Linked DNA regions of Homo sapiens: all the other regions are linked to region 2. The links are contacts of gene promoters, found by promoter capture Hi-C in blood cells and fetal thymus (Javierre and others, 2016). All regions are on one chromosome and are shown on one strand. Each heading gives the region's core, a stretch centred on a gene start or on the middle of the fragment in contact. The rest is flanking DNA. Distances are from core to core; before and after follow the strand shown.

Region 1 (6,749 bases), core at 733-3,232, 240 kb after region 2:
TTGTATGGCTAGCTTCCTCACTTCATTCAGGTCTTTTCAAACATCACATCCTGGCTAGGTAGAGTGGCTCATGCCTATAATCCCAGAACCTTGGGGGACTGAGGAAGGAACATTGCTTGAGCCCAGGAATTTGAGACCAGTCTGGGAAACACAGCAAGACCCCATATCTATAAAAATAAAATAATTAACCAGGATTGGTGGTGCATGCCTGTAGTCCCAACTATGTGGGAGGCTGAGGTGGGAGGATCCCTTGAGTCTAGCAGTTTGAGACTGCAGTGAGCAATGTACTCCAGCCTGGGCAACAAAGTGAGACCCCATCTCAAACAAACAAACAAACAAAACAACAACAAAAAAAACAAACATGTCCTCAGAGAAACCCTCCTTGACCACTCTAGTAAAATAACACCTCCACTCTCCTCCCTGCCACTTCTCTATCCCTCTACCTTGCTTTATTTGTCTTCAGGGCGCCCATCACTAAATTAATATATTTGTGTTTTGTTTGTTTTTGAGATGGAGTCTCGCTCTGTCACCAGACTGGAATGCAGTGGCATAGTCTCGGCTCACTGCAACTTCTGCCTCCCTGGTTCAAGCAATTCTCCTGCCTCCCTGGTTCAAGCGATTCTCCTGCCTCAGTCTCCCAAGTAGCTGGAATTACAGGCGCCCACCACCACACCTGACTACTTTTTGTATTTTTAGTAGAGATGGGGTTTCACCATGTTGGCCAGGCTGGTTTCAAACTCCTGACCTCAGGTGATATGCCTGCCTCGGCCTCCCAAAAGTCTGGGATTACAGGCATGAGCCACCGCGCCCGGCCTGAATATGTTTCCTTGTTTATGGTCTTCGTTCTGCTGCTAGATAACCTCCACACAGGAAGTTCAAGCAACGGGTGATGCAATGTATAATACATATCTATATATAGAGTGCAAGAATAGTCACTAAATCATCCATAGAGGTTAATCTCTAGATGAGAGATGTTGTGTGGTATCTGTTTTTTTGTTTTCTTTTCTTTTGTTTTTGAGACAGAGTTTCACTCTTGTTGCCCAGGCTGGAGTGCAATGGCACGATTTCAGCTCACCACAACTTCCACCTCTCGGGTTCAAGCAATTCTCCTGCCTCAGCCTTCCCGAGTAGCTGGGATTACAGGCATGCGCCACCATGCCAGGCTAATTTTGTATTTTCAGTAGAGGTGGGGTTTCTCCACGTTGGTCAGGCTGGTCTTGAACTCCCGACCTCAGGTGATCTGCCTGCCTCAGCCTCCCAAAGTGCTGGGATTATAGGTGTGAGCCACCACGCCCGACCTTCCTTTTTTTTTTTTTTTTGAGACTGAGTCTCACCCTATTGCCCAGGCTGGAGTGTGGTGGCGTGGTCTCAGCTCACTGCAATCTCCACCTCCTGGGTTCAAGTGATTCTCATGCCTCAGCCTCCCGAGTACCTGCGATTACAAGTGCCTGCCACCACACCTAATTTTTGTATTTTTTGTAGAGATAGGGTTTCACCATGTTGGCCAGGCTGGTCTGGAACTCCTGACCTCAAATGATCCGCCTGCCTTGGCCTCCCAAAGTTCTGGGATTACAGGCATGACCCACCGTACCCAGCCTGTTTTCTTTTTTATGCCTTTATGTGTCTTCTGAAAATTTTATAATAAATATGTAATACTTCTAAACTCAGAAAGCAATAAAACCATCTCTGTCATGAAAAACAAAATTTTACCTAATTTTGTTTGATCTAAGCTTGTATTAAAAAGAATTTGTTTTCTTCAATTTGATATTTGGGGTTAGTGGTAGATGTGTTTTCTGTATGACTGAAGAATCCAGCCCAAGGTTTACATCTGCCCTGGAAAATGCTCAAACTGCTCTCACTGAATGGTAATTGTGTGGGTTTTCACACAAGAGAGATAACACACGCAGGTATGCACACACACACACACACACACACACACACACACACACAACAAAATCAAATCAGAATGCGAACATTGTTACCAGTAGCAGACTCGCAGGGAACTGGTGTGTAGTATTTGGAGTATACTTCATCTTTTGGCCGATCAGGAAACACGTAGATAAGGTAATTCAAGTCTCCCAAGCGGTCGGCTAGGGACCGAATGGAGAAGTCTCTGGTGGTAAAAGGCATCAGATTCCAAAACATTCTTTCCTCTAGATCAATAAACAGAACAATCACATTCTAAACATGATTTCTGAATTAGGAAATCTTAAAACCCCAACATACTATAAATTCAAGCTTGCCATTATAATGGCTCCAATAGAAATCTCCATTTAAAAATAACCATGGGTTATAGATGAAATACTTTTATTTATTTACTTACTTACTTACTTATTTTGAGACGGAGTCTCACTCTGTTACCAGGTTGGAGTGCAGTGGTGCGATCTTGGCTCACTGCAACCTCCAACTCCCTGGTTCAAGCGATTCTCCTGCCTCAGCCTCCCAAGTAGCTGGGATTACAGGCACGCGCCACCACACCTGGCTAATTTTGTATTTTTAGTAGAGATGGAGTTTCCCTATGTCAGCCAGGATGGTCTTGATCTCCTGACCTCATGATCCACCCACCTCAGCCTCCCAAAGTGCTGGGATTACAGGCGTGAGCCACCGTGCCCGGCCTGAAATAGTTTTAAAAGCCATGGGTAGGGGCCAGGCATGTTGGCTCATGCCTGTAATCCCACACTTTTGGAGGCCTAGGCAGGTGGATCACCTGAGGTCAGGAGTTCAAGACCAGCCTGGCTAACATGATGAACCCTGTCTCTACTAAAAATACAAAAATCAGCCAAGTGTGGTGGCACTCATCCGTAGTCCCAGGTACTATGCTGAGGTAGGAGAATGGCTTGAAGCTGGGAGGTGGAGGTTGCAGTGAGCTGAGATCATGACACTGCACTCCAGCCTGGGTGACAGAGACCCCATCTCAAAAATAAATAAATAAATAAATAAATAAAAATAAAAGCCATGGGTAGATAAGCAGGTAATACAAAAATCACTTCCCAAGAGATCCAATGATCTCAGACGTTTCAAGTTCAAACAGTATTCTAGCCCTCAGTAGAAGAAACAGTTTTTACTGGCCCCCAATCCCTGATTTCCCATACAAAGATATATAAAAGCTAGGAAGCATGCCCACAACCAGAGAAAGCATAAGAGCTATTAAAAGTGATGAATTTTTTTTTTTTCGAGATGGAGTCTTGCTCTGTTGCCCAGGCTGGAGTGCAGTGGCGCGATCTCGGCTCACTGCAAGCTCCGCCTCCCGGGTTCACGCCATTCTCCTGCCTCAGCCTCCCAAGTAGCTGGGACTACAGGTGCCCACAACTACACCCGGCTAATTTTTTTGTGTTTTTAGTAGAGACGGGGGTTTCACTGTGATGGCCAGGATGGTCTCGATCTCCTGACCTCATGATCCGCCTGCCTTGGCCTCCCAAAGTGCTGGGATTACAGGCGTGAGCCACCGCACCCAGCCTTTTTTTTTTTTTCTTTTAAGAGACAGGGTCTTACTCTGTTGCCCAGGCTGGAGTACAGTGATGTGATCATGACTCACTGTAACCTTGAACTCCCAGGGTCAAGTGATCATCCCACCTCACCCTCCAGAGTAGCTGGGACTACAGGCGCACACCATGAGCACCACCATGCCCACCTAATTAACTTATTTATTTATTTATTTACTTAGAGACAGGGTCTTACTATGTTGCCCAAGCTGGGCTTGAACTCCTGGCCTCAAGAGATCCTCCTGCCTGAGGCTCCCAAAGTGCTGGGATTACAGGCATGAGCCACCGCACCCAGCCAAAAGTTATTAAAAACTTTAATTCACAGAAAATGAACCAGCAAGCTACCCTTATTGTGAGGGTCAGAGGAGAGAACTAACTTTCCTGATGCCCTGGTGCAGTGGCTCAAGCCCGTAATCCCAATACTTTGGGAAGCCAAAGTGGGGGATTGTTTGAGCCCAGGAGTTCGAGACCAGCCTGGGCAACATACAAAAAATTTAAAAATTAGATGGGTGTGGTGGTGCACGTCTGTGGTCCCAGCTAATCGGGAGGCTAAGGGAGGAGGACTGCTTGAGGCCAGGAGGTCAAGGCTGCAGTGAGCCATGTTTGTGCCGCTGCACTCCAGCCCGGGCAAAAGAGTGAGACCCTGTTTCAAAAAAAGAAAAGAACTAACATCTTGGGTAGAAATGGTTGATGGCAATATCCATATGTTAATTAGGATAAAGGAATATTTTTACTACTGTAAGAACTCCAAATCATCAAATTCTTCACTGAAATAAGCTTTATGCAGAGTAGTACAATAAGGCAAACATTTTAAGAGGGAAGCAACTGAGATTCTGCACGGACTCTTGTATCATAGGTAGCCATGTCATGGTTAAATGTTCATGTGTAACCATGCTGCCATATACTTTCATGTATAACCAAATTAGCAATTGTGTTTCCCATAATAGTATTTTTCATAGGCTGCCTTATTATGAGTATGTCATGGCTATACATTTATGTTTCCCATAATTAGTACTGACCTCAACAAATAGTAAGTACCCACTAAATTATTTGTTAAAATAATTTTGTAACGAAAGCAGCTAACTTTGGACATAAGAAGGGAGGGGCACTCACGAGAATCAAACTTCCAAGCAATGGTGATGCCGCCAATTTCTGAGTCACTGAATCTCAGGAGGAAGGTCCCATCTGGCTTGTTAATGAGTAGGTCATGGGCCTGTTGCTTGTTTACAAACCCCAAAATGGCCCTGGATCACCAAGGACAAAGGACAGAAGCAGAGTGTGACTTACGATGCCAGAGAGAAGACCTTCAGACTCTGTCGGCGCCTTAAGAAATAATGATTCTCACCCATCATTCCAATGAGGCTTGAGATGTTTTTTTAACACTTCCATCACACCGTCAAACCATTGCCAGAAAGTGTAATTCCGTCCTGGTAAATTCTCCTGGTTGGAGATACAACAGTGAACATAAGAACACCAGAGTAACACTTGGAATATTATACACATATTTAATTGGAAAAATTAAATGGGAAACAAACATCTACCCTTGTCAGAGGCATACAAATATCCCCGCCTACCTGAGTTTTACCTAATGGCCCCATGGAGAGGAAAAGAGGGAAGAAGGGGAAAATACCAAACTGCAGTTACCAGCACCCAGTGGGCTCCTGCTACAGACACTTTCACCTGGGACTGGGCTGACCCGTCCCTTGCTAGTTTCGATGTGTGGTCTGTGACCAGAAGCATCAGTGTCACCTGGGAGCTTCTGAGAAATGCACGTTGTTAGGCTCCAAATTAAACATTTAAAACACCTTGGGGGTGGGGGGTGTAGGAAAAGAAACAAAAATTAAATTCAAATCAAGGTGATAGCCGGGCATGGTGGCTCACGTCTGTAATCCCAGCACTTTGGGAGGCTGAGGTAGGCAGATCACTTGAGGTCAGGAGTTTGAGACCATCCTGGCCAACATGGTGAAACCCCGTCTCTACTAAAAATACAAAAATTGGCTGGACATGGTGGCGGGTGCCTGTAATCCCGGCTACTCAGGAGGCTGAGACAGGAGAATCACTTGAATCTGGGAGACGGAGGTTGCAGTGAGCCCAGAATGTACCACTGCACTCCTTGTGACAGAGCGAGACACCATCTCAAAAATAAATAAATAAACAAAAATAAATAGGGTGGGCACAGTGGACTCACGCCTGTAATCCCAGCACTTTGGGAGGCCGAGGCGGGCAGATCACCTGAGGTCGGGAGTTCGAGACCAGCCTGACCAACATGGAGAAACCCCGTCTCCACTAAAAATACAAAATTGCGGGGCGTGGTGCCGCATGCCTGTAATCCCAGCTACTCGGGAGGCTGAGGCAGGAGAATCGCTTGAAACCAGGAGGCGGCGGTTGCGGTGAGCCAAGATCGTGCCATTGCAGTCCAGCCTGGGCAACAAGAGCGAAACTCTGTCTCAAAAAAAAAAAATGAATAAAAATAAAATCAAAGTGACGTCTGAATTAGCAGATGCTAGAGGAGGAGTTTCTTTCATCAGCATCCCTCTTTGTGGGTTGAGGGTCCCATAGGAGCCTGATCTGGCATTACACATGGGGAACATAAGAGAGTAAAGGGGAGAGAGGCCCAGAGTTCGCATCCCCTCAAAAGCTTTGCTTCTCATGAGCTATGTTAACATCTGCTTTGCTCTATTTCCTTTACAAAGGAAGAAAATGCATTAACTGTAGACAAAGGTCAACTTATTTAAAATATGCAAAGATGTAATTTTCTACACGTGACCTGGGTAACTCTCAAGTTGTCCATCTAGTCAGAAGCTTCTATTACTTTCGGTACATTTTATTAGAGACATGAAGAATAAGGGCCCAGGGCAGGGAGACTCCTGAGAGCATCTGGTTGGGAAGGACTGATCTAACAGCGGCTGGCAGCTGGGCTCCTCACCCTGTTGAACTGGGACCAGGACACAGACAGGCCACTGTAGTCCTCCAGGTGGCTGCTGCTGTTGTTGAACAGTTTCTGCGCCAGGAACACGAGGTTCTCCTTGGTCAGGCCCCGGTTGCTCTGCACTTCGGCCTTGAATTTCATGTTGAGCGCCTCACACAGCTGTGGCCACAGCACTTTGTCAGGCACGGCAAATGGCACCCTGCCCTGAGAGGGAGAGAGGCCAGAATCTGATGAGAAAACAGTTGCATGATTTATTCCCTCAAGCCACAAAAGAAAAACGCTGATGGCTGGGAGTGGTTACACACATTTGTCTTGCAGGGCCTGAGGATAAATTCAGA
Region 2 (6,595 bases), core at 2,574-5,073:
GGACCCCCTCAGAGGGGCTCTGTCTCCGCCCCCACATGCCCTTTGAGCTGCTCTGAGAAGCCACAGGAGCAACAGCTGTGGAGAGAGACTCTGCGGGGAAGCAGCCAACACCCCAGTCTCCCTACCCTGGCCTGCGTCCTTGTGCCTGGAGAACTGCCGGGCACGTCCCTCTCAGAACAGCAGGTGGCAGCATTGCATCTGTTTTCACCACCAAAGGGCTGTGACCCCCTGAGACCTGAGACCCTCTGCAGATACCTCAGTAACTAGTGGTTTCCAGGAGGAGAATGTAAGGGAGACGCAGAAGGGGATGTAACTTTTCTCCATAACTGATAAAAAAAAAAATTTAGGAGCAAGGATCCCTTTGCTTGTAAAATAACTCTTCAGCTGAACTTTTTGTTAGCAGCGTATATCTTTATAGGAAACCTATCTTTTTCCTTATGTTTTTTCTATATTTTCATAGGAAACCTCCCAACAAATAATGAATGTGCTTCCCAGGGACAAAGAGAAAGTGTCAGAATGAAGATGCTGGAGAAAATCCTTCTGTCATTTTCCAGCACCTATGCTATTTCTTGCAGGGAAAAGAGGTGTTCTGGGGTCAGACTGTCCTGGGTTCAAATTCTGTCTCACTTGCACACTTGCAGTGTGACCATTGTGTGATTTCTTTTCTTTCTTTTTTTTTTTTTTTGAAACGGAGTCTTGTTCTGTCATCCAGGCTGGAATGCAGTGGTGCAATCTCAGCTCACTGCAACCTCCATCTCAGCCTCCCAAAGTGCTGGGATTACAGGCATGAGCCACTGTGCCTTTTTTTTTTTGAAATGGAGTCTCCCCTCTGTTACCCAGTCTGGAGTGCAGTGGCGCGATCTCAGCTCACTGCAACCTCCATCTCAGCCTCCCAAAGTGCTGGGATTACAGGCATGAGCCACTGTGCCTTTTTTTTTTTTTGAAATGGAGTCTCCCCTCTGTTACCCAGTCTGGAGTGCAGTGGCGCGATCTCGGCTCACTACAACCTCCGCCTCCTAGGTTCAAGTGATTCTCCTGCCTCAGCCTCCTGAGTAGCTGGGACTACAGTCTTGTGCCACCACTCCCGGTTAATTTTTTTTTTTTTTGAGATGGAGTTTTGCTCTTGTTGCCCAGGCTGGAGTACAATGGCACAATCTTGGCTCACTGCAACCTCCGCCTCCTGGGTTCAAGCGATTCTCCTGCCTCAGCCTCCCAAGTAGCTGGGATTACAGGCGCCTGCCACCATGCCCAGCTTATTTTTGTATTTTTAGTAGAGACGGGGTTTCACCTTGTTGGCCAGGCTGGTCTCAAACTCCTGACCTCAGGTGATCCACCTGCCTCGGCCTCCCAAAGTGCTGGGATTACAGGCGTGAGCCATGCCGCCCGGCCGTGTGATTTCTTTTCTATCGATCTCAGGTCCCTTGACTGCAAACTCAAATCAACGGCAGTGCGCATTTTCATGATGTCTGGATGGGATAAGCTATACAGCCCTCACGTGATGCACAGGACGGAGCTGGGCTCAGTCAATGATGGTTCCCTTTCTCTGCTTTTGGAAAGGTGTGCTGTCAACACCAATTTAAAGAGCTGGCAAAAACAGTCATTCTCAGGGCCTTTCTCTCATCGGCCTCTCAAAAGCACAGGCCTCCACAGAGATGAACAGTTTCTTTCTTTTTTTTCTTCTTTCTTTTTTGGAGACGGGTCTTGCTCTGTCACCCAGGCTGCAGTGCAGTGGCTGGATTTTGGCTCATCACAGCCCCAACCTCCTGGGCTCAAGCGATTCTTCTGCCTCAGCCTCCGGGTAGCTGGGACTACAGGCGCCAACCACCACGCCTGGCTAATTTTTGTATTTTTAGTACAGACAGGGTCTCACTGTGTCGCCCAGGCTGGTCTGGAACTCCTGGCCTCAAGGGATCTGCCTGCCTCAGCCTCCCAAAGTGCTGAGATTACAGGCGTGAGCCACCGCACCCGGCCTGACATGAACAAACTTTTATCTTTCTTCCCGCTTTTCTCTTATTTTTCAGAAGCTTCACTGTATGAAGATAGAATAATAACAAGAGAGAAGGACATGAGGAGAGTGAGAGATGAGCCCGAGAAGGTGGTGAAGCAGTGGGACCATAGTGAGGATGAGAAAGAGACAGATGAGGACGATGAGGCTTTTGGGGAAGCTCTGCAGAGCCCAGCAAGCGGAAAGCAGAGTGTGGAAGCAGGAAAAGCCAGAAGCGATTTGGGAGCAGTTGCCAAGGGCCTGTCAGGAGAATTAGGCACAAGATCAGGAGAAACAGGCAGGAAGCTACTAGAAGCTGGCAGAAGAGAGTCAAGAGAAATTTATAGGAGGCCTTCGGGAGAATTAGAGCAAAGACTCTCAGGAGAATTCAGCAGACAGGAACCAGAAGAACTAAAGAAACTTTCAGAAGTGGGCAGAAGAGAGCCAGAAGAACTGGGAAAAACACAATTTGGAGAAATAGGAGAAACGAAAAAAACAGGAAATGAGATGGAAAAGGAATATGAATGAAGCCATCGGTAGAGATGAGGATCAGGAAGCTGGTGTTCAGAGGGATCATGGGATTTTATTAAACTGGATTTTCAAGCGATTTGTCTGTTATAGGAAAAATGAGGGTTTTACTTCTGCTGCTTTCCATCACTATTTTGCCATTAAATAGGTGTCTTTCACTCTTGCAAACCCTGAGTCTGTCACTTTGCCTCTTCACCCCTGCCCATTCTTGGAAGAGCATCGTGGAAGAAATGAGAAAGGTGCCAAGAAGAAAGGGTTTCAGGAGGGTGAAGATACGGGCGCTACAGGGAACAAGAAGTCACAGGGAGGAGAGGGGAAGGCCTGGGAGGAGAGGTGCTTCCCACACACCGGTGACTGACTGAGTCCCTCCAGTGCGCAGGACAGCGGGGAGGCTTTATGGATGGAACAGTGGTGGGGCGGCCCCAGCTGTCACAGGTAGGAGAATGCCGCAAGCCAGAACCAAGCGAATGCTGGGAGTGAGGCCAAAGATAGGGGAGTGGCCTGGGAGTCGGGAGGGCAGACAGACTCCGCCTCTGACACCTCTGGGTGGCATAATCAGGTAAATCAGGCTCTCCAAGCTGGCTTCTCCTCTGAACAATGGGATACCTGCCTCAGGGGTTGCTGCGAGGACTGAGTGCTTAGCACAGCACTTGGACAGGAAACTCAAAAATCCAACGGAGCTCTCAGTGGTTTCACAGAGGAGGTGGCAGCTGAGGATCTGGCCTCAGAGGATGTTAGGATTTCACTCCGTTACTCATCTGTCCCTTTGGCCATTGCCATCCTGGTCTGTCTCCACAGCTCCTAGAAGGAAAGGTCGGGGCTGAGACTGACTTTCGGCTGGCACAGGGCCTGGACGAATGAGGCCAGTGAGGCATTTCAGATGCAGAGTTTACCGGAATGCCAGCAAATTGCATGATAATATTTTAATCCAATGTGGTAAAAAAAAAAGTTTTTAATTAATGCAAAAGTCCATGATGAATAAAATATCAAAAATTAAAGACAGGATCCGACTTTGCACGACCCTGCCTCACTCACTTCCTGCTAATCCACGGGACCGGGGAGGGTGACTGAGTTACCCCTCAACACGCAGAAAAAGCTAGTGGCCGCTCAGCTCGCAGGCGCAGTGGGTGGGTGCGCGTGGGGAGCAGGCGCGCGCAGGGGGCGGGACCGGGCCGAGGTTCCCGCGCGCGGCGAGAGTTTCGGGTTTTGGTTCGCAGCGCCTGCGCGCAGAGGAGACGGCCCGCCCCCAGCCCGCCCGGGTGCCCGCTCCGCCCCCCGGGCTATGTAAAGCGGCCGGGCTCGGGTCGTGCCACCGCTGGACTCCCGTGTCCCTCCGCGCAGGCGGGCGGCCCCGGAGCGCTGGTGCCGGCAGAGGCGGCGACGGTGGCGCCCCTCCTCATCATGGTGAGAGGCCGGGCGGGGCCGGGCACGGGGTAGCACCAGGGCGGGAAACGAGTGTCGGGGCCCCTCGGGAGGAAGCGTCTTGCAAACGAGGACCCGGGGCTCCGGGTTCGACTTCCAGTTTTCTTGGTACTCAGGGCGGCCCTGAGGTCTGGGAGAAGCGGAGGGGTTTTGGGGTGCCGGAGAGGCCGCTGTAAAGGGAAACGGTGGTGTTTCTCAGGAGGGAACTCGGGACCGCAGAAGCTGCTGCGCCTCTGGGAGCCTGGGTGGGCCTGGGCCGGGAGCCCGGGAGCTGCTCCCGACCCCACGCAGGCCCGCGCTGGGGCAGCCGCTTCGGCGCCCCCTCCCCGGGCCCAGTCTCATCACGCGGAACCGCTGCCCCGCGCCCGGGTGCGGGCGGGAGGTGGAGCCAGTTCAGAGGAGGGGACCCTTTACGGTAAAAGCTGCCGTCCCTTGTGGCTTCTAGAAGATAGGAAAACAAGTGGCTCCGAGAGGCGCTTCTGACACACAGCACAGCGGCGGGTAGAGCTGGATCCTAATTGCAGGTGCCCTGTGCTGCCCTGTTCTGGACAGGCACAAAGACCACGACTTTGTGGGGGCCGGGAGAGGGTAGAGGAGGAGGTGGCAGGCTTGGTGAAAGAGGGCCTTTGTCCAGTGCTCTCCTGCCCTGCCCCCCACCAGCCCTTCTGTGGGACCATTGTACCCGCATGCCAGACAAGAGAGTATTATCTGTTGCGGCCATTGTTGGGGGAAGGGAGGCAGTCTTGGGGTAACCCTTCTCCACTCCCCCCCTTCTCTGTGCACTCAGCCGTGGCAGCTGTGGCTTGGCCCAGACACAGAGACCCCCACCTCCAAAGAGGACGTCCTTAGTAGGTGCCAAGCATATAAGAGTGAGGCCAGTCCCAGAACCGCAGGCTCCTGGCGCGCCCCGCATGCCTCCAGCACGTTTACCTTTCCGAAGTGGCAGGAATGGGGAAAGCGCACGCTTAGGAGAGCTTCAGACAAGCTTCCCTCTTCCTCCTCCACGACCAGAAGCGGAAAGGTGCTCCCGGACCGAAAGGGAAAGAAGGTCCAGCACTGCCCCGCTTGGGAAGGCACCCACAACCAGTCTAGGGACTAGGGGTAAGGCCGGCGGGGAGCCCGCGAATGACCTGGGCTGACATCTCTTCCCCTCCTTACACAGAACAGAGGCTTCTCCCGAAAAAGCCACACATTCCTGCCCAAGATCTTCTTCCGCAAGATGTCATCCTCAGGGGCCAAGGACAAGCCTGAGCTGCAGTTTCCCTTCCTTCAGGATGAGGACACAGTGGCCACGCTGCTAGAGTGCAAGACGCTCTTCATCTTGCGCGGCCTGCCAGGAAGCGGCAAGTCCACGCTGGCACGGGTCATCGTGGACAAGTACCGTGATGGCACCAAGATGGTGTCGGCTGACGCTTACAAGATCACCCCCGGCGCTCGAGGAGCCTTCTCCGAGGAGTACAAGCGGCTCGATGAGGACCTGGCTGCCTACTGCCGCCGCCGGGACATCAGAATTCTTGTGCTTGATGACACCAACCACGAACGGGAACGGCTGGAGCAGCTCTTTGAAATGGCCGACCAGTACCAGTACCAGGTGGTGCTGGTGGAGCCCAAGACGGCGTGGCGGCTGGACTGTGCCCAGCTCAAGGAGAAGAACCAGTGGCAGCTGTCGGCTGATGACCTGAAGAAGCTGAAGCCTGGGCTGGAGAAGGACTTCCTGCCGCTCTACTTCGGCTGGTTCCTGACCAAGAAGAGCTCTGAGACCCTCCGCAAAGCCGGCCAGGTCTTCCTGGAAGAGCTGGGGAACCACAAGGCCTTCAAGAAGGAGCTGCGACAATGTAGGTGGCAGGTTGGGGCCTTATAAGCCCACCTTGCTGGGCACAGGGTGCTGCGGGCAAAGGACCATCATTGTACTCAAAGGATGGAGCACGAAGCAGCAGGAGGCAGAGAGAGGCTCACCTCAGCGGGGGCAGGGGCAAGCGGTGCGTCCCAGTGGTAGCCTTGGGGAGTTGGCAGCACATTGGGAACACGGGGGCTTCCCAGAGCGCCTTTCCTCCCACCACACCTATCCTTCTAGCCCTCTTCTCTCCGACACCCTTTTCCCAGCCTGAATGTAGACCACTGTCCCTTGTCTTGGAGGTGGGAAAAACAAATTACTGTAGTAACAGGAAACATGTCCTCTTCTAATGTAACCTTAGAGGGGGAATCAAGCCCAGTGTTTTCCAACGCATTTTTAGCAGCAGAATCATGTTCCAAAAAATAATAATAATAATCACATGAAATTGTAAGCTGCAAAAAAATTAAAACTAGGACTATTGTGGCTTCACTGGGGATGGTTCTCAGGCCTCGGACTGCTCAATTTACTCATGGGTTTGTGGCATCTGCAGCTCCAGAGGACACAAGTCTCACACTTAGGCCAAAACCCGTTTTCAGATGGAAAAACATGGACCCAGGAGGGATGTGGGGTTTACGGGCTGGAACCCTGGACTCTGGCCACTCTAGCAGGGTTCTCTCTTGGCATGGGCTTTTTGCTCCAATGATAGGTTTGAGATAAAGAAGGGTCCTGGTGGCTCTCCTGGAGTGACCTGTTGGAGAAGTGCCACCCACTAATCCATCTATATGCCTTTAGGCCATTTCTGGTTGCCTCCAATTTTATTTATTTAT
Region 3 (7,332 bases), core at 3,755-6,254, 220 kb after region 2:
CTTGTCTGTCTATCTGCTCCCTGGAGATGGGGCGGTCTCCGGGCACTAATGAGGCCACCTTGCACCCAGGAATCTGGGAGCACAAAAGAGGCGCTGGCCTGGGACAATATGGAGGGAGGCAGCTGCTAATTAGGGGCGGGAGAGAGGCAGACGCGAGACCCCACATTATGTGTGTGGGGGGTGGAGCAGCCAGCAGCAGTCCTCTCCCTCCCCTGCTTCTTGTCGCTGCTCCTGGGGACTGTCAGGCTCCAGGACCTTCTTCCTTCATGGAAAGGCTCCTTAGCTGCCCCCTCCCCCTAGCTTTTTTTCTCCCTTCTGCCCTTTCCACTAGCCTCTGAGATGGAAAACCTTGAAAACTCAGCCTAGACAGTGGGAGGTAAGAAGCCAAAACCAAGCCCAATTTCTCTTTCTTTCTTTTCTGTGTGTGTGTGTGTGACTAAATTTTGGTCTTGTTGCTCAGGCTGGAGTGCAGTGGTATGGTCATCTTGGCTCACTGCAACCTCCGCCTTGGGTTCAAGCGATTCTCCTGCCTCAACCTCCTGAATAGCTCCTGAATAGAATTACAGGCACACGCCACCACAACCAGCTAATTTTTGTATTTTTAATAGAGACAGGGTTTCACCATGTTAGCCAGGGTGGTCTCAAACTCCTGACCTCAAGTGATCCACCCACCTCAGTCTCCAAAAGTGTTGGGATTACAGGCGTGGGCCACTGCACCAGGCCCCCCCGCTTTTTTTTTCTTCCTTCCTTCTTTCCTTCTTCCTTCCTTCCTGCATTTCTTTCTTTCTTTCTCTCTCTCACTCTCTCCCTCTTTCTTTCTTTCTTCTTCTTCTTCTTTTTTTTTTTTTTGAGACGGAGTTTCACTCTTGTTGCCCAGGCTGGAGTGCAATGGCGCAATCTCAGCTCACTGCAACCTCCACCTCCAGGGTTCAAGCAATTCTCCTGCCTCTGCCTTCTGAGTAGCTGGGATTACAGGCATGCGCCACCATGCCTGGCTAATTTTGTATTTTTAGTAGAGACAGGGTTTCTCCATGTTGGTCAGGCTGGTCTGGAACTCCTGACCTCAGGTGATCCGCCTGCCTCAGCCACCCAAAGTGCTGGGATTACAGGCATGAGCCACCATGCCTGGCCTTCTCTCTTTCTTCATTTTCTTTTCTTTTTCTTTTCTTTCTTTTTTTTTTTTTTTTTTGAGACAGTCTCACTCTGTCGCCCAGGCTGGAGTGCAGTGGCGCGATCTCGGCTCACTGCAAGCTCCGCCTCCCGGGTTCACGCCATTCTCCTGCCTCAGCCTCCTGGCAGCTGGGACTACAGGTGCCCGCCACCACGCCCAGCTAATTTTTTGTATTTTTAGTAGAGACGGGGTTTCACTGTGTTAGCCAGGATGTTCTCGATCTCCTGACCTCGTGATCTGCCCGCCTCGGCCTCCCAAAGTGCTGGGATTACAGGCGTGAGCTACCACGCCCAGCCCTCTTTATTTTCTTTCTTGAGAAGGTTTCACTCTGTCACCCAGGCTGGAGTGCAGTGGGACAATCATAGCTCACTGCAGCATCAAATGCCACGGCTCAAGCAATGCTCTCACCTCAGCCACCCAAGTAGCTGGGACCACACAGATGCATGCCACAATCCCTGGCTAATATTTAAATTTGTTTGTAGAGACTGGGACTCCCAGGCTGGTCTCAAATCCCTGGCTCAAGCCATCCTCCCCCTTCAGCTTCCCAAACTGCTAGGATTACAGGTGTGAGCTACTGTGCCTGACCAAACTCAGTTTCTACCAGAGGCTGATAGAAAGCTTCTACCTCCCCAGCTTTCTCCCTGGCTCAGGCTACCTGGAGGGGAGGAATGTAGTCCCACTCTACAGTCAACACGGAGTGAGCCGCCATGCATTGAAGAACACATGTCATCTCCAGGCCCAAGCTTCTTATTCACAACCTCTTTTTTTTTTTTTTTTTTTTTTTTTTTTTTTTTTTTTTTTGGAGATAGAGTTTCACTCTTGTTGCCAAAGCTAGAGTGCAAAGGCACGATATTGGCTCATTGCAACCTCTGCCTCCTGGGTTCAAGCAATTCTCCTGCCTCAGCCTCCCAAGTAGCTGGGTTTACAGGTGCACACCACCATGCCCAGCTAATTTTTTGTATTTTTAGTAGAAACACAGTTTCACCATGTTGGCCAGGCTGGTCTTGAACTCCTGACCTCAGGTGATCTGACTGCCTCGACCTCCTAAAGTGCTGGGATTACAGGCATGAGCCATGGCACCTGGCCTACAACCTCTTTATTGAGCTCCTGCTGCATGCCACACCAGGCACTGGGCATGGGGGCAATTGTGCACAGGATCTAGCCCAGTTTCCAAGGAACTCATATTCCAGGTGGGAGGCAGTTCAGGCATAATGATAGTTCAGTGAAGGAGAGGACTACTGCCCACATGAGCAAAGCTGAGCCAGTCACTCTGCCTGGGGTGGGCCTGGTAGGGGGTCCTCAAAGGCCTTGCATGAAAGCTAGTTTACATCAGGGGCAGCGGGATAGAGGGCATTACATAGAAGGGACAACTTGAGCAAACTCCTGGAGTTGACAGTGCTTAACAACCCTTAGATGGGAGGTGAGGCGTGGTCCTTAGTCCAGGCCTTCTTTCAAGCAAGGGGAGAGAGGTAGCTGCACATGTAGGTGAGGGCCAAGGTCAAAGGGTCTAATAGGCCAAATTGATTGGTCTTAATCCTGTGGGCGATGGGGGCCACCATGGGAGGTTTTTTTTTTTGTTTTTTTTTCCCGAGATGGTCTCGCTGTGTTGCCCAGGCTGGTCTTGAACTCCTGGGCATGAACCATCCTTCCACCGCAGCCTCTTGAGTAGCTGGGACTATAGGCCCATGCCACTGTGCCCAGCTTCACAGGAAGATTTTAACAGGATGGAGTGACAGGCGGAGGTGGGGGCCGGGTGGGTATGCAGCCAGGACCTGGGTGTGGGACATGGAATGGAGAAGCTATTCAGAGGCATCTGGATCCAGTGCTGCCTCTACTGAGGAGGAGCTGAGGTCTGCCCCTCCCATCAGCCTCCAAGATGGAAAACCTTAAAACTCCAGTCCAGGCAGTGGGAGGGAAGGAAGCCAAAATCTAGCCCAGTTTCTTTCTTTCTTTTATTTTAGCCTCTACAACCTTGTGGAGGCTGCGTTTCCTCATTAGTATGGAACAGTGAACCCAGATGGTCTCCGGAGTTGCTTCCTGCGGCGATGCCTTATGATGTGAAGTAATAGCTCTCCCTTCCCCACCGCAGAAGTGGTTTGTGGGTGCTGGCCTAGGATGTGCCACGAGTCCTCCAAGGCTCCTGTGTGCGCATGCAGCCTTGCCAGGCCCAGAGCAGAATGTTGGGGGAAAGTCCTGGAGCTCAGTGGGGGAATGGCTGGGCCGGGGTCCACTCCCGTTTCCCCAAAGCAGACCCTGAGGCAAGAATCTGGGTGCAAGAGGTTTATTTGGGAGCCATCCCAGGAAGCCCAAGGCGGGGGAGTGGGGAAGAGAGGGAAGGGAGAGCCCCCGCAGGAAGTACATGAATGAGTGGGTTACTGCTGCGGGCAACTGGGACTCCATCCTGCTGGGCATCCTCTGAGAGTTTATGTAGAATACACTTCAGAATTGTCCTGCTCAAGGACAATGAAGCTGAGGTCCTGCTCCTTATTGACTCAGGGTTGCTGCTCCTGGGGACATTAACCCCCCAACACTTCTAGCTTGCCCAGTGCACTGACTGAGCACACAGCTGTGGCCACCAGAGAACCTCTTTGGGCTGTGATACAGGAAACCATCGGTGTGCATGGTAACTCTCTAGCAGTGTCCTTCATGCCGGGACATGGGGACACGGGCAGGCACTGCTGGCATCTGCTAACCCCGGAGGCCCATACTTCAGAACCGGTCAGCTGGGCCAAGGCCTCTCTAAGGCCCAGCGGCTCTCATGGGCAAATGTCAGGTGACACAGAGTCAGAGACCCTGGCCAAGGACTCCCCATCCGGAGAGGTCCCAGAGGGAGGGGCGAGGTGGCCTCTGGGGGGAGCTGGGCGGTGGGGCAGGACTTGACTCAGGACACCACCCTCTCCTGCAGACACTGGGCCAGGTGCCTGTGCCGAAGGACCCGGGGCATCGCAGGGGGGAAGGGGGAGGAGGGGCAGGCAGCGAGGGCTGCCCGGAGTGCTCGGAAGGCTCCCTGCCCCACCAGGTGGACTCTGGCAGGGCCCACGCTGCCCCAGAACCGCAGGGACTTGTAGCGGGGAGAGGCTTCCTGAAGGCAGTGGTCCAGCTGGGAACAGAACAGCCTGAGTGAGCTGGTGTGTGACTGTGAGTGTGCACACGAGGCGTGTGTGGCTGTGCCCAGGCTACATGTGTTTAGAAGTTTTGTGTGGACAGGTGTGTGTCTGTGGGACTTAGCCCTCCCCTCCCAGAGCCCCAGGGAGCTTCTCCTCCGCCACCCCTCTCCTTCCCATCAGCCCTGATCTCCATGGCACCCTGGGAGTGTGCAGAGTGAAGGGGTCTACAGTCAGACCCTGTCCTCGTCTCCTTTACCTTGTCTCGATTTTCCTCTGACAGATTCCTCAGCCCCCTCAGCGCCACAAACACCTCGTAGTGGGGAGCAGAGCCCGCAGAGGAATCTGTGAATAGACCCCATGTGCACACATACTTCCGGTGAATGGGCAGCTGCCAAGTCTAGTGTCCTCTGCCCTATCTGTTCTTCCCCACTCTGAGATTCATAGGGAAAAAAGAGTTTCTTGGTGGGGAGTGGGGTAAATGGAGAGGAACCTAGAGCTTGATCCTAAATAGGAGACAGATCAGGAAAGAAAATGGGTAGAGACTGCAGCAGGATGGATGAGAGTTAGATGCAGAGAAGGACTTTTGTAGGAGTAGTAAAGGAGGCTTATCTCTTTCCTAGCAGTCCCCTGGCAGGGGAGGTAGGAGTTGAAGGGTAGCTCAAGGATGGTAGGCAGGAGCCGGTGGGGAGGCTCACCCAGAATGCTGCTCTCCACACAGCCATGGTCCAGCAGCTTGGCCCCCGCCCACTGCCCCACTGCCCGGCCCAGGGCCTCAGAGAACAGGTCTTCACCAATATCTTCCCCTCGCACACTCAGGGTCTGGTCCAGCCTGAAGAGGAGGAAGGGAGAGGCAGTGGAGCCCAGGACACAAGGATGGCCCTTCAGCTCCCCGGGGTCACCTACCTGCAGATGAACCTGACGACTGGACACTGATTGTAGGCACCAACCACTCGCACCACATCACCCAGGCGGCACCTGATGGGGTGCAAGTGGGAGTGAGGTCGGGCCCAAGGTCTTCTGAGCTCATGCCCCAGGCCCCCAGCACGGTCCCATAGGGCCCCAGGTAGCAGGGGCTGTGCAGCTGATCACCTGGTGAGGCTGGCGCGGTCCGTCAGCACCAGCTCATACTCCTTGCCCTGCTGGGCCTCGGCCAAAAGGAGGGTGGAGGCAGCTTCCTCCTGGGTGCCTTCCTTGACTGGGAGCAGCTCGATAAAGGGGGCCCCAGGGGGCAGAAGGTAGAGCCCATGGGGCTGCTCTGGCTGTAGGTTTAGGCCCAGCACCCCTGTGAAAGCAAAGCAGCCTCCTCAGCGTCTGCTGGTGCCATCGCTTTCTGCCAGGCAATAGCCCCTCCTGGATCCCAGGCCTGATCCTCTGAGCACCTGATCCTCCTGCTGCCCTTCCACCACATCCTTCCTGGCTCCCCCAGCCTCAGCGGGCTGCCTCTTAGGCCCTCACTGGAAAGAGGCAGAGTGCTGTGGTCCTGGAGGGGGCAGACTTGGGAGTGAATCCTGGTGCCACATGAATTTGTGCAAGACTCTTTTTTTTTTTGAGACAGAGTCTCGCTCTGTCACCTAGGCTGGAGTGCAGTGGTGCGATCTCGGCTCAGTGATTCAGTGATTCCTGGGTTCAAGTGATTCTCCTGCCTGAGCCTCCTGAGTAGCTGAGATTACAGGCGCCTGCCACCACACCTGGCTAATTTTTGTATTTTTAGTAGAGACAGGGTTTCACCACATTGGCCAGGCTGGTCTTAAACTCCTAACTTCAGGTGATCCACCCACCTCAGCCTCTCCCAAAGTGCTGGGATTACACCCGTGAGCCACTGCCCCGGCCTTTTTTTTTTTTTTTTTTTTTTGAGACAGGGTCTTGCTCTGTCACCCAGGCTGGAGTGCAATGGCGCGATCTCAGCTCACTATAATTTCTGCCTCCAAGGTTTAAGCAATCCTCCCGCCTCAGCCTCCCAGGTAGCTGGGATTATAGGCGTGCACCACCATACTCCGCTAGTTTTTGTATTTTTAGTAGAGATGGGGTTTCGCCATGTTGGCCAGGCTGGTCTGGAACTCCTGACCTCAACGATCCATCCACCTTGGCCTCCCAAAGTGCTGGGATTACAGGCGTGAGCCACTGCACCCAGCTACAAGACTCTTAACCTAGAGAGCCTGAATTTCTTCACTTGTAAAAGGAGGCTGCTGGCCCTAGCATGCAGCTTGTTGGGGAGGATTAAATGAGATGATTATGTAGGGCCCAATGCATGGCTGCTTGTCATGTGACCACTGACCGTTGCCCCCACCTCACTGCCCTTGAGTCCCACTGACCTCCCGAGGCAGCATAAGCAGGAGAGAAGAAGGCTAGTCCTTGGCACCACAAGGCCCCGAGGGCAGCCACAGCCTCGGCCTGGCCTCCTGCATCCAGAGTCACCACCACCTGCAGCTTTGGCCAGAGCCGAAGGGCCAGTCCCCGTGGCCCCTGCTCTAGGGCCTCCCGGAGCTCAGCTGCCCGTTCACGGAGAGGCGCTCCAGGGTTCCCGGCAGCTATCGCCCCAGCTAGCTCTTCACCATCAGTCTCCAGGCCCAAGAAAACATCCAGAAGTTCGACAGCCGTCCCAGCCTCCAGTGCCCTCAGCCCTGGGGACCTCAGTGCGTCCAGCAGCAGGGCCCTAGGGTCCTTGGTTCCAGGGGTGCCCACCTGGCCCAGGGTATTCCCAGGCCAAGGCAGGGGTCGGGGCCAAGGGGATGTAAGCGTCACACGGGCAGTGCGTCCCTGAGCCAGCACTTCTGGGTAGGCCTTGTTTAGGGCTGCCAGACCCAGCAAGGTGGCCTGGAGGAGGAAAGAGAGAATGTTGGTCTGGTGTCAGAGCCAGACCCAGAGCCCCCATTTGGGGGTTCTTTGCCCACCATGACTGGAGGGTTTGGCTGCAAGTCAGAGGTCTCTGGTGGGACTGGGCTGTGGCCAGGACTGGGCTCTGGCCATCCTAGATTACCTGCAGAGAGGCCTCCCCAAGGTCCTGGTTTGAGGTCGGGGGCAGTGGCTGCTCTCCACTGTCTTCCTGCTGGGTCT
Region 4 (6,829 bases), core at 481-2,980, 190 kb after region 2:
TACAAAAATTAGCCGGGTGTGGTGGCAGGCGCCTGTTAATCCCAGCTACTCAGGAGGCTGAGGCAAGAGAACTGCTTGAACCCAGGAGGCAGAGGTTGCAGTGAGCCAAGATCACGCCACTGCACTCCAGCCTGGGCGACAGAGCAAGACTCCATCTCAAAAACAAACAAACAAAAAAGTGAAGAAAGTACATCCTAGCTCTACTCAAAAGACTGTAGGAATCAGATACTAGCCACTGTCCAGAAGCCCTCAAACACACCTCAAGGCCAAAAAACACAGCACTTTTAAGTGGCAAGCGAGGGTGGTAAAGGTAGCCCAGAACACTGAAGAGCTACAGAAGTTCCCACAAACTGCACGGCTTTCCGTCCCTTCCTCCACTGTAGATAGCAAGGGTCAGTCATGGCCTCAGAGCCAGGCTACTCCTCGTTAAGGTACAGTCTCCGGCCTGTACTTTGGCCACATAACAAAGCTTGGTCTGAGACAGCAGCTATTTCACACACCTAAGCCCCAAGCAACAGACAAGGATCAGTCAATATGGTTGAGGGAACCTGCACTTTCTGGCATGTATCGGAATTCCTCAGGCTACAATTAAAAATCCAGAACTGCCATTGTGATCTTGACTTAGTCCTCAGTAATAAGTCCAAGCCCTGAAGGGATTGCAGACAGACCCTGGCGTGGTGTGGACCTGTTGCTCAGGGAGGTGTATGTGTGTGTGTTTGGGAGTGGGAAAGAGATGGCCCTTCAATTCCAGACTCCTCATTTTGGGTCTTATTCTCCTCCCTATAGACACACGGACAGCAGTCCCAAGAAAAGCAGTCCCTTTGAGGCGGCTGGGAAACCACTCACGTGCTCTGGGAGGACAGAGCTGAGCCTGGAGCAAGGGGGGAGGGGAAAGAAGATAATGAATGGGCACATCCACCCTGATCTGTGATCTGTAGCTAGGATTGAGCAAACCTCAGCTAAATTCTTCAGAGGCAGAAAGAGAGAGACACTCAAAGAACAACATAACTAGAGGACAGGGCTGGGAGACAGAAGGGGCAAAACAGGAAAACAGCTCATTTCTAGTAAGTGACTTTAAACTCAGCTGAGGTCCTGGTTGGTTCTCTGGCTTGAGGAAAGAGAGGAAGTAAGGAGTTGCGGGAGCGCACACACACTTCTGTGCGTGTGGAACGGTCTCACCCAGACGACCCCCCTCCCCCAAAGGAAATCGAGATATTCCTCTAGGGCTAGAGGGGACAACTGGTTTTGTGGGACAGGAGGAAGGAAAACGGCGACAGACAGCACTCCCTGTCACTTCTAAAAGAGAAGAGGGACAGGTTCCTTCACACCTAGCAAAGATCCTCCGATTCTGGAAGCAGGGGGAGCGGAACTTAGGGTACCTCTCTCCCACAACTAGAATGGACAGGCCAGAGGACAGTCATAGCGGTTTCCTTAAGGCTCACCAAAGGCAGGTAAGCTAAGGAAAGAAGCTCCCCACCTCCTATGGCCCGACGCCTGGGGAGCCCCTCAAGAGGGGGCTACGGGTCGGGGGAGGGGTCAGTATCCCCCTAAACTGGGGCTGGGCGGGAGGAAGGGCTGCCCTGGAGATGCTTCAACGCAGGCGAGACACCAGGTCCTGGGACAAGCATACTCACGGCGGCTCCGGGGCGGCGGCGTTACTTGGGGCCGGGGCTCGGACGGGATCCGCTTCTCTCCCCGCCGGCGGTGTCCCAGGCTCCGGCCTCCACTTCCGCCTTTCAGCCGCTCCGGATCCGGATCTCCACCTCCGCCCCGCCCCTCAATACTCCCAGGTGATTGACAGTGCGGAGACCAATGGGAGGCACTCTTGGCCGACCTACCCAGCGGCGCCGGTAGGAACGCGGGAGTGGCGGTAGGGAGCGCGCGAGGGATCGCGGGACTTGTAGTTCGCAGCGCTGGGAGGAGTCAGTGGCTGCCTGGGACTTGGGCTTAGGGTGGAGCCGGCTGACTGCGAGGCGGAGCCCGGCCGGAACTTTTTTTTTTTTTTTGAGACGGAGTCTTACTCTGTCGCCCAGGCTGGAGTGCAGTGGTGCGATCTCACTGCAACCTCTGCCTCCCGGGTTCAAGCGATTCTCCTGCCTCAGCCTCCCGAGGAGCTGGATTATAGGCACGCACCACCACGCCCGACTAATTTTTGTATTTTTTAGTAGAGACGGGGGTTTCGCCATGTTGGCCAGGCTGGTCTCGAACTCCTGACCTCAGGTGATCCGCCCTCTTCGGCCTCTCAAAGTGCTGAGATTACAGGCCTGAGCCACCGCGCCCAGCCTACGGCCGGGAACTTTTTAAGGCTAACCCTGCCATCCGCGTCACCGCCGGTTCCGGACGCCCCGAGGGAAGGCGGGTGGTGGAGCGTTGGAAGAAGGCAGAGGATTGTGTGTGCAGAATTGGGAAAGAAAAAACGTGGTGCGAATGAATATGCACGCGAGGCCTCAGTCCTGTGAACTCGCTGATCTGGAGAAGCCCTTGTCTGCACTGTCCGCCCGATTGCCAGGGGCGTCTGTGATTGGGAAGGTGAGGAAAGCGCTGCAGGAAGAGTTCTCTGCAGGATGCTGGGTGAGATCAAAGGGAGAGCTTCTGCCACCACCTCCTACTTGGTGTGTGCGGGGGCCGGCACAAAGACCATCTCTGCCTCTGCCTTCCCCTGCTCCTAGCCAGGGTCAGCTCTTCTCTCTGACGCGGAATACAGAGCTGGACAACCTCTGCCTCGGCCCTCTCCATCCGTAAATAAAGACTAGAACCACCCCCACTCTGCACTCTCCCCCTCTATGGATCAGGAATATTTGTTTTTTCTGCTCCTCTCAATATGGACTGGGCCCGCTCCTGATTCCTCCCACCCTTACCTCTCAACACAAACCAGTACCTCCTCTTCTTTTGCATCTCATCCTCAAGGGACACTACTGAAAACCTGTGTGGAATCAAAGCTCACCGGAGACAGCTGTGGCCATTGTGCCTATAACGCCAACACCAGGCATATCCTGGAGCCTCAGCTGGAGAATTTACCTGTCTTGGACAACCTGCCACAAAACTGTGCCCACATCTAGTTCCATCTGGTCATCAGGGCGTCTCTCTTTCTTACACCCATAACACACAATCCCCACTTCCGCGCCAGTGTTCATGAGAAGTGAAAAGGAAGAGGGAAGAGAGGGCTTGTTGGGAGGACAGAGGGGATGGGGCAGAGTGGGATTCCTAGCAGGTTCTGGCTGGTGACAAGCTCTTCCCCCAGCCCCCTTGCCATACCCAGTTCTGGAACAGTTCCTTATACAGGAGGGATGGGTAGTCCCCTAGGCCCACCTTTCCAAGGCTGGAGGTGGGCCAAAGCCAGGACTCTGTCCTTCCCACATACTGTGTGCATACATGGCTGTGACTGGGGTGCAGGGGAGAGAAGGGGGTATAATAGGCCCATAGTGACTAATTAAGTTTCTTCCTCAACCCTGGGGCCCCTGGTGGTGTGAATGTGGTGCCAAGTAGATTGGCTGGTGCCTCTGCCCTTCCTAGAGATAGCAACTGGGCCCTGGGGTACAACGAAGGTGAGGGTGGGGAGTGATTGCTGTGTTGGCTCCTCCAAAGCCCTGGGGCTCTCAGAGTAACCCCCAGAAACACCCAGAGCCAATAACTACAAAAATAAAGAGTTTATTTCCTATCCAAAAGTGAGCCCAGGGTGTTGGGTGGTAGAGGAGAGCTGGAGACCTGGGCGAGTTTTGGAGCAGTCCAGGCCCTGAGTGAGACCATGTTGTAATGGGGGAGAACAGGCTTGGCAGCGGTCTGGGGTCAGGGAAAGGATAGGGAGTGCTGTTGGGATTTTTGAGTTGCTAGCAGCAGAAGAGACCACCTTGAGAGACAGCCTGCAGAGAGACAGAAACAGAGATGTTGACAGACCCACGCCTAGGAGTAGAAGCAGACATTACTGGGCCCAAAAAGCACCTGTTGGGCACAGGGACCTGGGAACACACTGTTAGGTAAGGCAGAGGTTGCAAACTCAACCCCTGGGCTCCACCCCGGACATTCCAAATTGGATGAGGCCCAGGAATCTGCTTTTTATTTTTTTATTTTTTTGAGCCTCCGCGCCTGGCAGAATCTGCGTTTTAATAGGATCTCAGGTAGTTCTGATGGACACTCAAGTTTTGAGAACTCAAATACCCACAGAGACCAAACAAAAATTTCAAACAAGGGAAGCTAGCTGGGTGTCGGGAGATGATCAAGAAACGTGGTGACTGCGAAGTAGAGTGCAGAGCAGATCCCATCTAAAGAGGACAGTGGCCACCCAGCCCAGCTGATTGCCAGTTATTGCCAGATGGAATGTTGGCCCACGGTAGCCTGATGTCCTGAGGTTTTTTTTGTTTTGTTTTGTTTGAGCAGGGTCTCACTCTGTCACCCAGGCTGGAGTGCAGTGGTGTGATCACTGCTCACTGCAGCCTCAACCTCCTGGGCTCAAGAGATCCTCCCACCTCAGCTTCCAGAGTAGCTGGGACCACAGGCACACACCACTACACCTGGCTAATTTTTTAATTTGTATAGAGATGGGTGGGGGGGGTGTCTTGCTATGTTGCCCAGGCTGGTCTTGAACTCCTGGATTCAAGTCATCCTTCCACCTCAGCTTCTGGAGTAGCTGGAACCACAGGCACTCACCACTACACCTGGCTAATTTTTATTTATTTATTTATTTATTTTTGAGGTGGAGTTTCACTCTTATTGCCCAGACTTGAGAGCAATGGCACGATCTCGGCTCACTGCACCCTCCACCTCCCAGGTTCAAGCGATTCTCCTGCCTCAGCCTCCCGCGAAGCTGGGATTACAGGCATGCACCACCATCCCAGCTAATGTTTGTATTTTTAGTAGAGATGGGGTTTCTCCATGTTGGTCAGGCTGGTCTCGAACTCCAGACCTCAGGTAATCCACCTGCCTCGGCCTCCCAAAGTGCTGGGATTACAGGCGTGAGCCACCATGCCCAGCCTACACCTGGCTAATTTGAAAAATATTTTGAAAAATATTTTTCAAAATAATCCCAGCACTTTGGGAGGCCGAGGCAGGTGGATCATGAGGTCAGGAGATCGAGACCATCCTGGCTAACATGGTGAAACCCCGTCTCTACTAAAGATACAAAAAAATTAGCTGGGCGTGGTGGCAGGCGCCGGTAGTCCCAGCTACTCGGGAGGCTGAGGCAGGAGAATGGCGTGAACCCGGGAGGCGGAGTTTGCAGTGAGCCGAGATTGCACCACTGCACTCCAGCCTGGGCGACAGAGTGAGACTCCGTCTCAAAAAAAAAAAAATATTTTTATAGGCTGGGTGCGGTGGCTGACACTTGTAATCCCAGCACTTTGGGAGGACGAGGCAGGCGGATCAGGAGGTCAGGAGATTGAGACCATCCTGGCTAACATGGTGAAACCCTGTCTCCACTAAAAATACAAAAAATTAGCCGGGTGTGGTGGCGGGCGCCTGTAGTCCCAGCTACTTGGGAGCCTGAGGCAGGAGAATGGCATGAACCCAGGAGGCGGAGCTTGTAGTGAGCTGAGATTGCACCACTGCATTCCAGCCTGGGTGACAGAGTGAGACTCCGTCTATAAAAAAATATATATATATATATTTTTTTTATAGAGATAGGGTCTCGCTATGTTGCTCAGGTGGATCTCAAACTCATGGACTCAAGCGATCCTCCCACCTCGGCCTCCCAAAGGGCTGGGATTATAGGCATGAACCACTGTGCCCAGTGCTACATTTTGTAGAGAAATTGGAATATCTGTATTCCTATATAACCTGTCTCTTTTTTTTATTTTGAGACAGAGTCTCACTGTCGCCCAGGCTGGAGTGCAGTGGTGCGATCTTGGCTCACTGCAACCTCCGCCTCCCGGATTCAAGCGATTCTCCTGCCTCAGCCTCCCGAGTAGCTGCGATTACAGGCATGTGCCACCATGCCCGGCTAATTTTGTATTTTTAGTAGAGATGAGGTTTCTGCATGTTGGTCAGGCTGGTCTCGAACTCCTGACCTCAGGTGATCCGCCTGCCTTGGCCTCCCAAAGTGCTAGGATTACAGGCGTGAGCCACCGCACCTGGCCCTGTCTCATTTTTAATATTGGAACTAACTCATATTTTGAAAATAATGCTGCGCGAGCCGAAGAGTACATATCTGGAGCCATCCGTTTGTTTCCTGTGTGGGCTGTGGGATGAGGTGAGCCTCTCCAGCCTGGGCTCATGGTGGGCGGCCTAAGAAATCATGGGTTGCTCAAATTCCAAGCAACATCTCAAACCTACCCCTCTCTAGGTAACATTGCTCTTAAGGTCTTCAGCAGAGACCCAGGGGCTGAGACAGAAGACCTCACAATATCACTAAGCTATCTTCAGGCAAAATCCTACAACCTGTCTCTCTTGCTATAGACGCTAAGATCCTGTCTGGTCTTCCCTTCATGTCCTAGGCTGGAGCTGGGTCCCTTGCCCATCCCCTCTGCTCCCCCATCTCTACCTGCCTCCAGGTCCTGGGGAGAAAGTAGGATCTCATCTGCCCAGCCCAATGGGCACTGCGGTTCATCTCATGCCTGCTGGGTTCCACAGCCCTCAGGTGGCTCCCCTCACAGAGGGGGAGGTTGGGGAAGGCTTGGAAAAGGGAATAGCGTCAGAGGTAACCACGCTTCATTAAAAAGTCCAGAAATCCAGAGCCAACCAGGCCAGCTGGTGGCTGCTGACCCCAAGGCAGGAAGCCAAGGGGCCCAGGTCCTCCCTGAGTGGTGAGCGGCAGCGCCCACCCCAGACAGGCCTGGGCCCTGGGCCAGGGTCAGTGGAACGTGTCTGACCTGGACTGGAAACTGTGCCTCAAGAGGCT

Evidence for each region. Contacts are between HindIII fragments. The CHiCAGO score rates a contact against its expected background, and 5 or more counts as called.
Region 1: a fragment that was not itself captured here is called in contact with the fragment with the promoter of CNP in region 2 in 6 of 17 cell types (M2 macrophages, M0 macrophages, M1 macrophages and 3 more); the score reaches 7.1 in M2 macrophages.
Region 3: a fragment that was not itself captured here is called in contact with the fragment with the promoter of CNP in region 2 in 3 of 17 cell types (M0 macrophages, endothelial precursors and M1 macrophages); the score reaches 7.2 in M0 macrophages.
Region 4: a contact is called between the fragment with the promoter of RAB5C here and the fragment with the promoter of CNP in region 2, in 15 of 17 cell types (monocytes, endothelial precursors, megakaryocytes and 12 more). The highest score is 14.4, in monocytes.

Annotation. Positions count from the first base shown.
Region 1 is chr17:42,205,576-42,212,324 of GRCh38, forward strand. STAT5B (signal transducer and activator of transcription 5B) reads right to left here. Exons shown (of 19, transcript NM_012448.4): 13 at 6,409-6,615; 14 at 4,828-4,922; 15 at 4,596-4,726; 16 at 1,983-2,153. Among named protein-coding and RNA genes, the nearest start is that of GHDC, 14 kb to the left of the region's middle. The HindIII fragment of the contact is 508 bases long and covers 1,729-2,236 here.
Region 2 is chr17:41,962,972-41,969,566 of GRCh38, forward strand. It overlaps CNP (2'',3''-cyclic nucleotide 3'' phosphodiesterase), which reads left to right and starts at 3,824. Exons shown (of 4, transcript NM_033133.5): 1 at 3,824-3,916; 2 at 5,097-5,769. The coding sequence starts at 3,914. ODAD4 (outer dynein arm docking complex subunit 4) reads left to right here. Exons shown (of 12, transcript NM_031421.5): 12 at 2,022-3,532. The coding sequence ends at 2,512. RefSeq lists silencers at 115-264, 3,567-4,006, 4,137-4,326 and enhancers at 3,097-3,196, 4,298-4,855, 4,856-5,413, 5,414-5,971. The HindIII fragment of the contact is 2,895 bases long and covers 2,023-4,917 here.
Region 3 is chr17:42,185,651-42,192,982 of GRCh38, forward strand. It overlaps GHDC (GH3 domain containing), which reads right to left. Exons shown (of 10, transcript NM_032484.5): 4 at 7,256-7,332; 5 at 6,591-7,092; 6 at 5,368-5,560; 7 at 5,182-5,253; 8 at 4,974-5,107; 9 at 4,535-4,620; 10 at 3,437-4,271. The coding sequence ends at 4,053. Among named protein-coding and RNA genes, the nearest start is that of HCRT, 3.9 kb to the left of the region's middle. RefSeq lists an enhancer at 7,332. The HindIII fragment of the contact is 6,184 bases long and covers 1,913-7,332 here.
Region 4 is chr17:42,153,259-42,160,087 of GRCh38, forward strand. It overlaps RAB5C (RAB5C, member RAS oncogene family), which reads right to left and starts at 1,731. Exons shown (of 6, transcript NM_004583.4): 1 at 1,635-1,731. RAB5C-AS1 (RAB5C antisense RNA 1) reads left to right here and starts at 1,142. Exons shown (of 3, transcript NR_187282.1): 1 at 1,142-1,451; 2 at 1,741-1,850; 3 at 2,510-3,665. KCNH4 (potassium voltage-gated channel subfamily H member 4) reads right to left here. Exons shown (of 17, transcript NM_012285.3): 16 at 6,473-6,829; 17 at 3,633-3,860. The coding sequence ends at 6,782. RefSeq lists enhancers at 1,183-1,803, 1,713-2,007, 1,890-1,999, 6,190-6,829. The HindIII fragment of the contact is 7,588 bases long and covers 468-6,829 here.